3 separate regions of the Homo sapiens genome follow, and regions 1 and 2 are each linked to region 3. Evidence: promoter capture Hi-C in 16 types of primary human blood cells and fetal thymus (Javierre and others, 2016). All regions are on one chromosome and are shown on one strand. The core of a region is centred on a gene start or on the middle of the fragment in contact, and the rest is flanking DNA. Distances in the headings are between cores, read along the strand shown. Region 1 has its middle 2.6 kb from the start of TMEM232. Region 2 overlaps SLC25A46 (solute carrier family 25 member 46). Region 3 holds the start of FBXL17 (F-box and leucine rich repeat protein 17).

Region 1 (2,700 bases), core at 106-2,605, 2.3 Mb before region 3:
TATCAGGGGTTTCTGCTTTTACTTCCTCCTCATTTTTATCTTGCTTTCACCATGTAAGAAGTGCCTTTCACCTCCCGCCATGATTCTGAGGCCTCCCTAGCCATGTGGAACTGTAAGTCCAATTAAACCTCATTTTGTTCCCAGTTTTGGGTATGTACTTATCAGCAGCATGAAAACAAACTAATACAGTATCAAATAGAAATTATTTACAATTAAGTTATACACTCCATGGCAAAACTAAACTGATATCACATAATATCAAAAATAGTTAAGAAATTGTCATCTAGAAAGTTGTTAAATTACAAAATCAATATTAATTCTAATGCAACAGTTCAAACTGATAAATATTTTTTCATGGCTATAGTTTTTTCCTATGATTCACTTTTGGTGTCAGATTGTTTTCCCTGGAAAATCAATTCTAATCTAGGAAGGTAATTGCAGTATTATGGACTAATTTGAATCGTGTCAGTGAAGATGCTAATAGCCTTGATTCCAAGCAACTGGAGGACTGAAGCTTAAGGTTTGAGAAATATGATTGAAGAAAATATAATGCATATTTTAAATTGTGTAACTTACTAATAGTTTCATCTCTTTCCTGACTTTTTAATGAGTACTCACTAGGTAGATTTCTCTAGGTAAAATTTTGATAAGTGCTATATAAGAGCACTCAGAATGCTAAGGAAACATTGAAGGATGTCTTCTAAGTTATCCTGAGAGAACAGTCATTGCGTTGGAAGGCTTCTAAAATGAGGTGTCTTCCCAGGTGAATGTGTCACTTTGGTTGAAGATAACAGAAACTCAATTTGTTACTTTAAACAGAAGATTTGACAGGATAATCAGGGTTTATAGAATTGATGGAAGGCTGTAAGTCAAGGATTGAAATGGACAGGAAAAAAAAATGCTGTTCTAGAGGACCAAGAAGCAGGAGGTACCACAACTGTCTTTTGGCAGGAAAATCTGTAAGGGTGCTGCTATCATGGCCCAAGGCACAGTTATTGCTACTTTCATCTTGATATTATCTGCTAAAAATTCAAATTCTTAAACTAGAACACATACTTGGCCAAACTTCTGTCATATTCCAACACAGAGTTCTGAGAAAATATAATCTGCCGTTTTTGGCTTTTGTAGTGGATGATGAAACACCACTTCCCATTCATATTACATGAAGAATTCCCCAGGTAGCATGGAAGGGTGATTGGATTCTCCAGATCCAAAATGTTGACAAATGTCTAACATCCGAGTCTTGATCAAGAGTAAGCATTTACCTGGTGTGTGGTTATTAGGGAGCAGGGGGTGGTATGCGTTTGTGTGAGTTTGTGGCAGCAGTTGAGGAGTGAGTGGGCAAGTATATTTTCAGACAGAGGAAGAGCATGCATGAGGTTATTAAGAAACGAGAGCTCATGATATGTTTAGGAAACTTAAAATATTTTTTAATTGATTACATAGCAGTGGAAAAAGTTTTAAAAATAAAGAAGACTGGGCCAGGCACGGTGGCTCACGCCTTTAATCCCAGCACTTTGGGATGCCAAGGTGGGTGGATTACCTGAGGTCAGGAGTTCGAGATCAGCCTGGCCAACATGGTGAAACCCTGTCTCTACCAAAAATACAAAAATTACCCAGGCGTGGTGGCAGGCGCCTGTAATCCCAGGTACTCGGGAGGCTGAGGCAGGAGAATCGCTTGAACCCAGGAGGTGGAGGTTGCAATGAGCTGAGATCGCTCCATTGCACTCCAGCCTGGGGGACAAAAGCGAGACTTCATCTCAAAAAATAATAATAAAATAAAATAAAAAAGACTGGTAAAAAAAAAAAAAGCAGAAAAAAACTGGGCAAGTAGGCAATGATATAGTTTCTGAAAGCATAATTGTGCCATACTAAGGGGTTAGGATGGTTTTGACATGCTTATTTTCCTAATTGCTAATTAATGGCCATTTTAGGATTATATATATATAGGTATATATATAATAATTTGAAAAAATTAGATTTGTCTTGTCAAAACTTCAATGTAGATGACTAATTAAAGGGAGAAAGGGGAGGTATGACTTTATTAGATTTATTTTTCTTACATAAATTTTCTAAATATTCTTGTCATTTTTTAAAATCATTGTGGGTCTCCTATTAGCTTAATATTATTGTGACTCTAAGGTTATACCAATATTATCTTAAAATTATTTAAAATTATTTCCTGTTTTAAGCTTCATTCCTCTGAGATTTATTGTTGCTATGGTATGAGATAGTAGTTCAGATTTATTTTCTTTCAAATTGTGCTCAGCCTCTGTACAGTTTTTCCCCACTGAGTTAAAATGGCAAATTTATCATATATAAATTTTATGCTTTTTCTGTAATCTTTCATTCTACTGATATATATATAAATAAAATCAGTAGATACATATATAAAATCAGTAGATATATTTAGAATAAGTAGATATGTGTAATATATATATATATGTATTTGTGAATTCTTCCTTATATAAACTTGTTCTGTTGTCTTCACTGTAGAATCGATGGGGTGACTTTTTTTCTCTAAACATGCTATAGTTTCAACTGATTCTTATATTATGGAGAAGAATTTTTTATTCGGCCTTCCTTTTATTCCTTTTTAATTCAATCTTCATTTGATTATGAATAACCTGGTTAACAGTTTGTATTTTTTTATGCTTTTAACACTTTTCTAGATCTCTTGAAATTAAAACAAGCAAGCCC
Region 2 (2,700 bases), core at 58-2,557, 2.4 Mb before region 3:
TATTATTAATAGATATACATGATAGAATTAAAAAGAAGCAATAGGGTATCAGCTGAAAAGTCTGTCTCCTTTTCATCCCAGTCCTCAGCAGCAGTTTTAAAATTTATCGGGATAATCCATGCATATACAAGTATATCTGTGTGTGTATGTTATAGAAATATTTTTGTTTTGCTTATTTTTAACAGGTAGTATTATCTTGAAACATAAAAAATATCCTGGAGATCATTCCACATTAGTATACACAGAGCTACCCTCTTATTTTTAAAGGTTACAAGGTGTTTCACCATAATATACCATAATTATTTCACTGGTACCCTAGTGATGGACATTTAATCATTTCCAGTCTATTATATGCAATGTCATAGGACATCCTTGTATATATATTTTTGCATATATATGTGCACATCTATGTGGGATAAGTTCCTGGAAGTGAAAGAACATGTACATTTTAAATTTTAATAGATATTGCCAAACAATCCAAAGGTCTTCAAGATATTTTGGTCATGGCTAAAACACCTTCAACAGTACTCTTGTAGCTTTTAAGATCTAGTAGTGTGCAGTTCTTAGAAGGTGCTTTAGAATCTGGATCCTGCTTACTTCTCTGGCTACTTTTTCATCTTTCTCTTACTCTTCAACCCCCACTTCAAGCTCCCATTGTACTCCATTAAATCCATTCCCAAACATTATGATCTCTCTTTGTCTTCTGCCTTCACACGTCTACTTTAAAAACCTTTTCTCTATCCTCATCATGAAGAGTCAGACTTCTCAACAAGAAGCACACAATTCGGGCCTTTCTTTTCCCAAAGTTTTTCCCAGCCATACACTGTGCCCAAGCCCAGTTTTGATAAGGTACTTCTCTTTTGTATTCTGACAGCATTCTGTACTTCTAATATTGCCTTTATCTTACTGCAGCACAATCTTCAAAGATTTTGTCTCCATGAATAAATATGAGCCTCTTGATAGCAGAGACATCATCTTAGCACAGCTCTTTGTGGTTTTGCTAAATTAAATTGTACTTTTGCTAAATTACATTTTGAAAGATTCAAAAACATATCGTTGTGCTACTTTAGTTTTACTACAACAGTTAAGATGTTTTATTGACCAAACTGAAAGTAATTATTCTTGCTTTAATGATTACTAAACCCAAATGACACTTATATAAACCTTTAATAGAATCCAGACAAAATTCTCACCTGAGTTTTGTTGAAACTGTACATAATATTGATGACTGTAAATGGAGTGAGATGGTAATGCTGAGCATGGTAATTAACCTGTAAAAAAGATATTTCATTATTTTTTTCTGTTAATGTTTTGTCAAGAAATAACAGAGCCATGAAAGAAATATGGTGGAATTGCAGTATAAACAAAAGTTAATTCCAAAGTCAACATAAATTACACATAAGCAAAATTACTCTTAAAAGTGCTTTAAATAACCTATTAAAAGTACAGTATGTATGGTTATATAAATACAATCTGAAGACCAATGCATAATACACACAGTACTGTAGACTATATAATAAAGAGGGTCTTATTTGATATTTGGTTTGCCTTAAACAACTGAATTACATCTCCCAACTCATGTTCATTTTAGGCAAGCATTTTTCAAACTGTACTTGGCAACTGACTGGTATATGAAATCAACTGGGGGAGTGTCAAAACAATATTTATTATGTGAAACAATAAAATATTAGAATGTATTACATTCTAATGGTATTATTTCATAAAACATTTAAAAATAATATATTTGTTACTTATATGTAATGTATCCATTGGATCTCCATGTTAATATTACTACAATGTAAAATATATATCTGAAATACACTGTTCTGTGGCACATACAGTCAATGCTACTTTAATGGTATTTCTGTATACATACTTTTCAGTGCTAAGCATGAACAGATTAATTTATAATGATTTATACTGTTTTGAACTCTAACAGCTAACAAATACAGGAAGCATTACTTTACAGAGAAAGTGGGTTATAACAGGACGGGCGCAGTGGCTCACACCTGTAATCCCACCACTTTGGGAGGCTGAGGCGGGCGGATCATGAGGTCAGGAGATCGAGACCATCCTGGCTAACACGATGAAACCCCGTCTCTACTAAAAATACAAAAAATTAGCTGGGCACGGTGGCGGGCTCCTGTAGTCCCAGCTACTCGGGAGGCTGAGGCAGGAGAATGGCGTGAACCCAGGAGGCGGAGTTTGCAGTGAGCCGAGATCATGCCACTGCACTCCAGTTTGGGCAACAGAGCGAGACTCCGTCTCAAACAAACAAAAAAAAAAAGTGGGTTATAACAGAGTTTGCAAGTGGGGTCCACTGACTCCTGAGGGCCCCATTACCCTTTCAGGGGCTTGACAAGTTCAAAATTATTTTCCTAGTGATTACTAAGATATAATTTCCTTTTTTCACTGTCTTGACATTTTCACTAATGGTACAAAAGCAATGGTAGGTAAAACTCCCAGCTCATTAGCACAAATTGAGGCAGCACCATCAAACTGTATTTTCGTACTTACAGTAATTTTTCACCTCATTTACCCATAGAGAGAAAAAAGCAACCTTCATATAGTAATATCCTTGACAATGAAGTAACAAAATGTTAATTTTATGAATCCTTGACCTTTGAGTACACATCCTCTTTCTAATTAATATCCTGTGTGTTACATAAGGAAGTAAGATTGCTGTCATGAGGAAAGCAC
Region 3 (2,700 bases), core at 111-2,610:
GCCAGAATTAACAATTGTTTGACAGCATGTTTGAGAGCAGGCTGGGTGGGGCTGGCCACTATAGTGGGAATAGCAATGTAGGTTCCAACAGTGGTCTTCTCCAAGCCACTGGGCCTTGAATATTGCAATACTTCTTCCTCAGTCAGCTCTCTCAAGTTATCCTTAGCAGATTTTTTTTTAAACACCTGCCACTTCTCTTCCACCCTTCAGCAGGTAACCAAGCTCTATCTGAAGCAAAACAGAAACCAACAGAAAGGAACTCTTTCACCTTCCTGCTAGAAACATCCACCTCTCTGTATCCGTCCTTTATCTACCTTTCCTCATTCTCTGTAATCACAATGAAGAAAGTATCCTTCCTAAAGCACTCTCCATTCCACCTTCTCCTCTTATTTCTCTCACTAGAGTGGCTCATTCCCATGGTATTTGCCTCCTCTAATTTTTCGCTTGTGAAAGCTAACCTCTCCGCACCAGGTACCGCTCTAGCAGCTGCCCTAGCTCTTTAGCCTCGATATAGTCAAACCTTCTAAAGGACTGCCTGCATAGCTGTTTCCTCTTTCTCATCTGGATCACCAACGTTTGTCATATAGCAGGCACTGCACCGTCATGTTTAAAATATACAACAGACGGCTAGACAGGATTCCGAGGGTGTAGACAATAAAGTGATCTACAGTTTGTAGCCTGGGTGTTGAATGGCTCACTGGGTGGGGAAGCTGTTATCTTTCTGCTGTGCACAGGTAATTTGATATATGCTTTCATTCTGAAATAAAGTTGTGGAAAGGCAGTAGTACGCAACAATTAAGAAAACACAAGTGGGTAAACAGTGGTGCCGCACAACCAATCAACCCCTCACATGACTTCGGTGCGCATCACCCAGGGGCCGCATCTGCCACTCTGCCCGAAGCGCGGTCAGCGCCCACACTGGCCCTTCCGGCGGAACCCGCCTCGCGGCTTCGAAGTGGCCTCGGTTTCCGAGTCAGGGGTGGTGACAGGGGTGGAAGGTGAGGGGAAGAGCCCAGCGGCTCCCGGCCAATGGCAGCTCTTGAACTTACACCTCGAGACGTCAGCGCGGCTGTGTAAACGGATGTCACACAGCTGGCTCGGAAGTGTCTCCTCCCGCCTCAGAAACGCGGCGCACGCCCAGCAGCTTCGGAAAAACCTTAGGCGGTGGGAGGGAGGGGCGTGCGCCGCACCCCGCAAGCCCAGAGCTCCGTGCCCTAGCCGGCCGGCTTCTTCCCGTAGTGCCGGTGTGACGGCCGTCCCGGGTGAGCAGCCGGGTGCCGGCGTCCCCGCCACGAGCGCGCCACCGCAACTGGCTCCGCCCCCTGCCGGAACGGGCCGCGCGCTCCTGCGGCTCCGAGCAGAGTCGCGGGTGCGCGCGCCGGCGGCGGATCCGCAGTTAAAATGGTCCGAGCGGGACCCGGCCTTTCCCCGGCCGCTCCGCTGACTGACTGAGCCGGCTGGCCGGGCCCGGACTGGTCGCCTAGCCGGCAGGCTCGCTCGCTCCCTCCCTCGCGTCCCCAAAGCTCGCGCCCATCGTTCTCCCGGCTTCCCTGGGCAAAGCATGTAGCCCCCGTCGGGCACTCCGGCGGCCCGCAGCTGACGCCCACCCCCCACCGTCGCGTGTGTGCCCGTGTGTGCGTGTGTGTGCGCAGGAAGGGCGACCCCTCCGGGGGCCGAGCCAGCGAGCGGCCTGCCCCGCTGCCGGGAGCCCGCCTCTCTGGGTCTCCCTCCCTCCCGTCCCGGTCCCCCTCCTCGGGGCCTTCTATATGGGCCACCTTCTCTCGAAGGAGCCGCGTAACCGCCCGAGCCAGAAGAGGCCTCGCTGTTGCAGTTGGTGCCGCCGCCGGCGCCCTCTCCTCAGGCTGCCCCGCCGGACCCCAGCCAAGGTGCCCCCTCAGCCGGCGGCGCCCCGGAGCCGGGACTGCTTCTTCCGCGGGCCCTGCATGCTCTGCTTCATCGTGCACAGTCCCGGCGCGCCCGCCCCCGCCGGCCCAGAGGAGGAGCCGCCGCTCTCGCCGCCGCCGCGGGACGGGGCCTACGCTGCCGCCTCCTCCTCTCAGCACCTGGCGCGGCGCTACGCGGCCCTGGCCGCCGAGGACTGCGCCGCTGCTGCCCGCCGCTTCCTGCTATCCTCGGCCGCCGCCGCCGCCGCCGCTGCCGCCTCGGCTTCGTCGCCCGCCTCCTGCTGCAAAGAGTTGGGGCTGGCTGCGGCCGCCGCCTGGGAGCAGCAGGGCCGAAGTCTCTTCCTGGCCAGCTTGGGGCCGGTGCGCTTCCTGGGGCCGCCCGCCGCCGTGCAGCTCTTCCGGGGGCCGACACCGTCACCGGCCGAGCTCCCTACGCCCCCCGAAATGGTGTGCAAGCGGAAGGGGGCCGGGGTCCCCGCCTGCACCCCCTGCAAGCAGCCCCGCTGCGGCGGCGGGGGCTGCGGCGGCGGCGGCGGCGGCGGTGGCGGGGGAGGGCCTGCGGGGGGAGGCGCTTCGCCGCCCCGGCCCCCCGACGCCGGCTGCTGCCAGGCCCCGGAGCAGCCCCCGCAGCCGCTCTGCCCTCCGCCCTCTTCTCCCACCTCCGAAGGTGCCCCCACCGAAGCTGGCGGGGACGCTGTCCGAGCCGGGGGCACCGCCCCCTTGTCCGCCCAGCAGCAGCATGAATGTGGCGACGCGGACTGTCGGGAGTCCCCCGAAAACCCCTGCGACTGTCACA

Evidence for each region. The method cuts DNA at HindIII sites, captures the fragments that hold promoters and counts their contacts. A CHiCAGO score of 5 or more calls a contact.
Region 1: a contact is called between a fragment that was not itself captured here and the fragment with the promoter of FBXL17 in region 3, in 1 of 17 cell types (monocytes). The highest score is 6.1, in monocytes.
Region 2: a contact is called between a fragment that was not itself captured here and the fragment with the promoter of FBXL17 in region 3, in 3 of 17 cell types (total CD4 T cells, fetal thymus and naive B cells). The highest score is 6.9, in total CD4 T cells.

The regions. Positions count from the first base shown.
Region 1 is chr5:110,727,964-110,730,663 of GRCh38, reverse strand. It overlaps a transcript of TMEM232 not described here. Among named protein-coding and RNA genes, the nearest start is that of TMEM232, 2.6 kb to the right of the region's middle. The HindIII fragment of the contact is 1,678 bases long and covers 517-2,194 here.
Region 2 is chr5:110,744,840-110,747,539 of GRCh38, reverse strand. SLC25A46 (solute carrier family 25 member 46) reads right to left here. Exons shown (of 8, transcript NM_138773.4): 4 at 1,194-1,271. Among named protein-coding and RNA genes, the nearest start is that of SLC25A46, 7.2 kb to the right of the region's middle. The HindIII fragment of the contact is 6,336 bases long and covers 1-2,700 here.
Region 3 is chr5:108,380,758-108,383,457 of GRCh38, reverse strand. FBXL17 (F-box and leucine rich repeat protein 17) reads left to right here and starts at 1,360. Exons shown (of 9, transcript NM_001163315.3): 1 at 1,360-2,700. The coding sequence starts at 1,767. RefSeq lists an enhancer at 990-1,109 and silencers at 1,210-1,459, 1,660-2,409, 2,430-2,509. The HindIII fragment of the contact is 13,285 bases long and covers 1-2,700 here.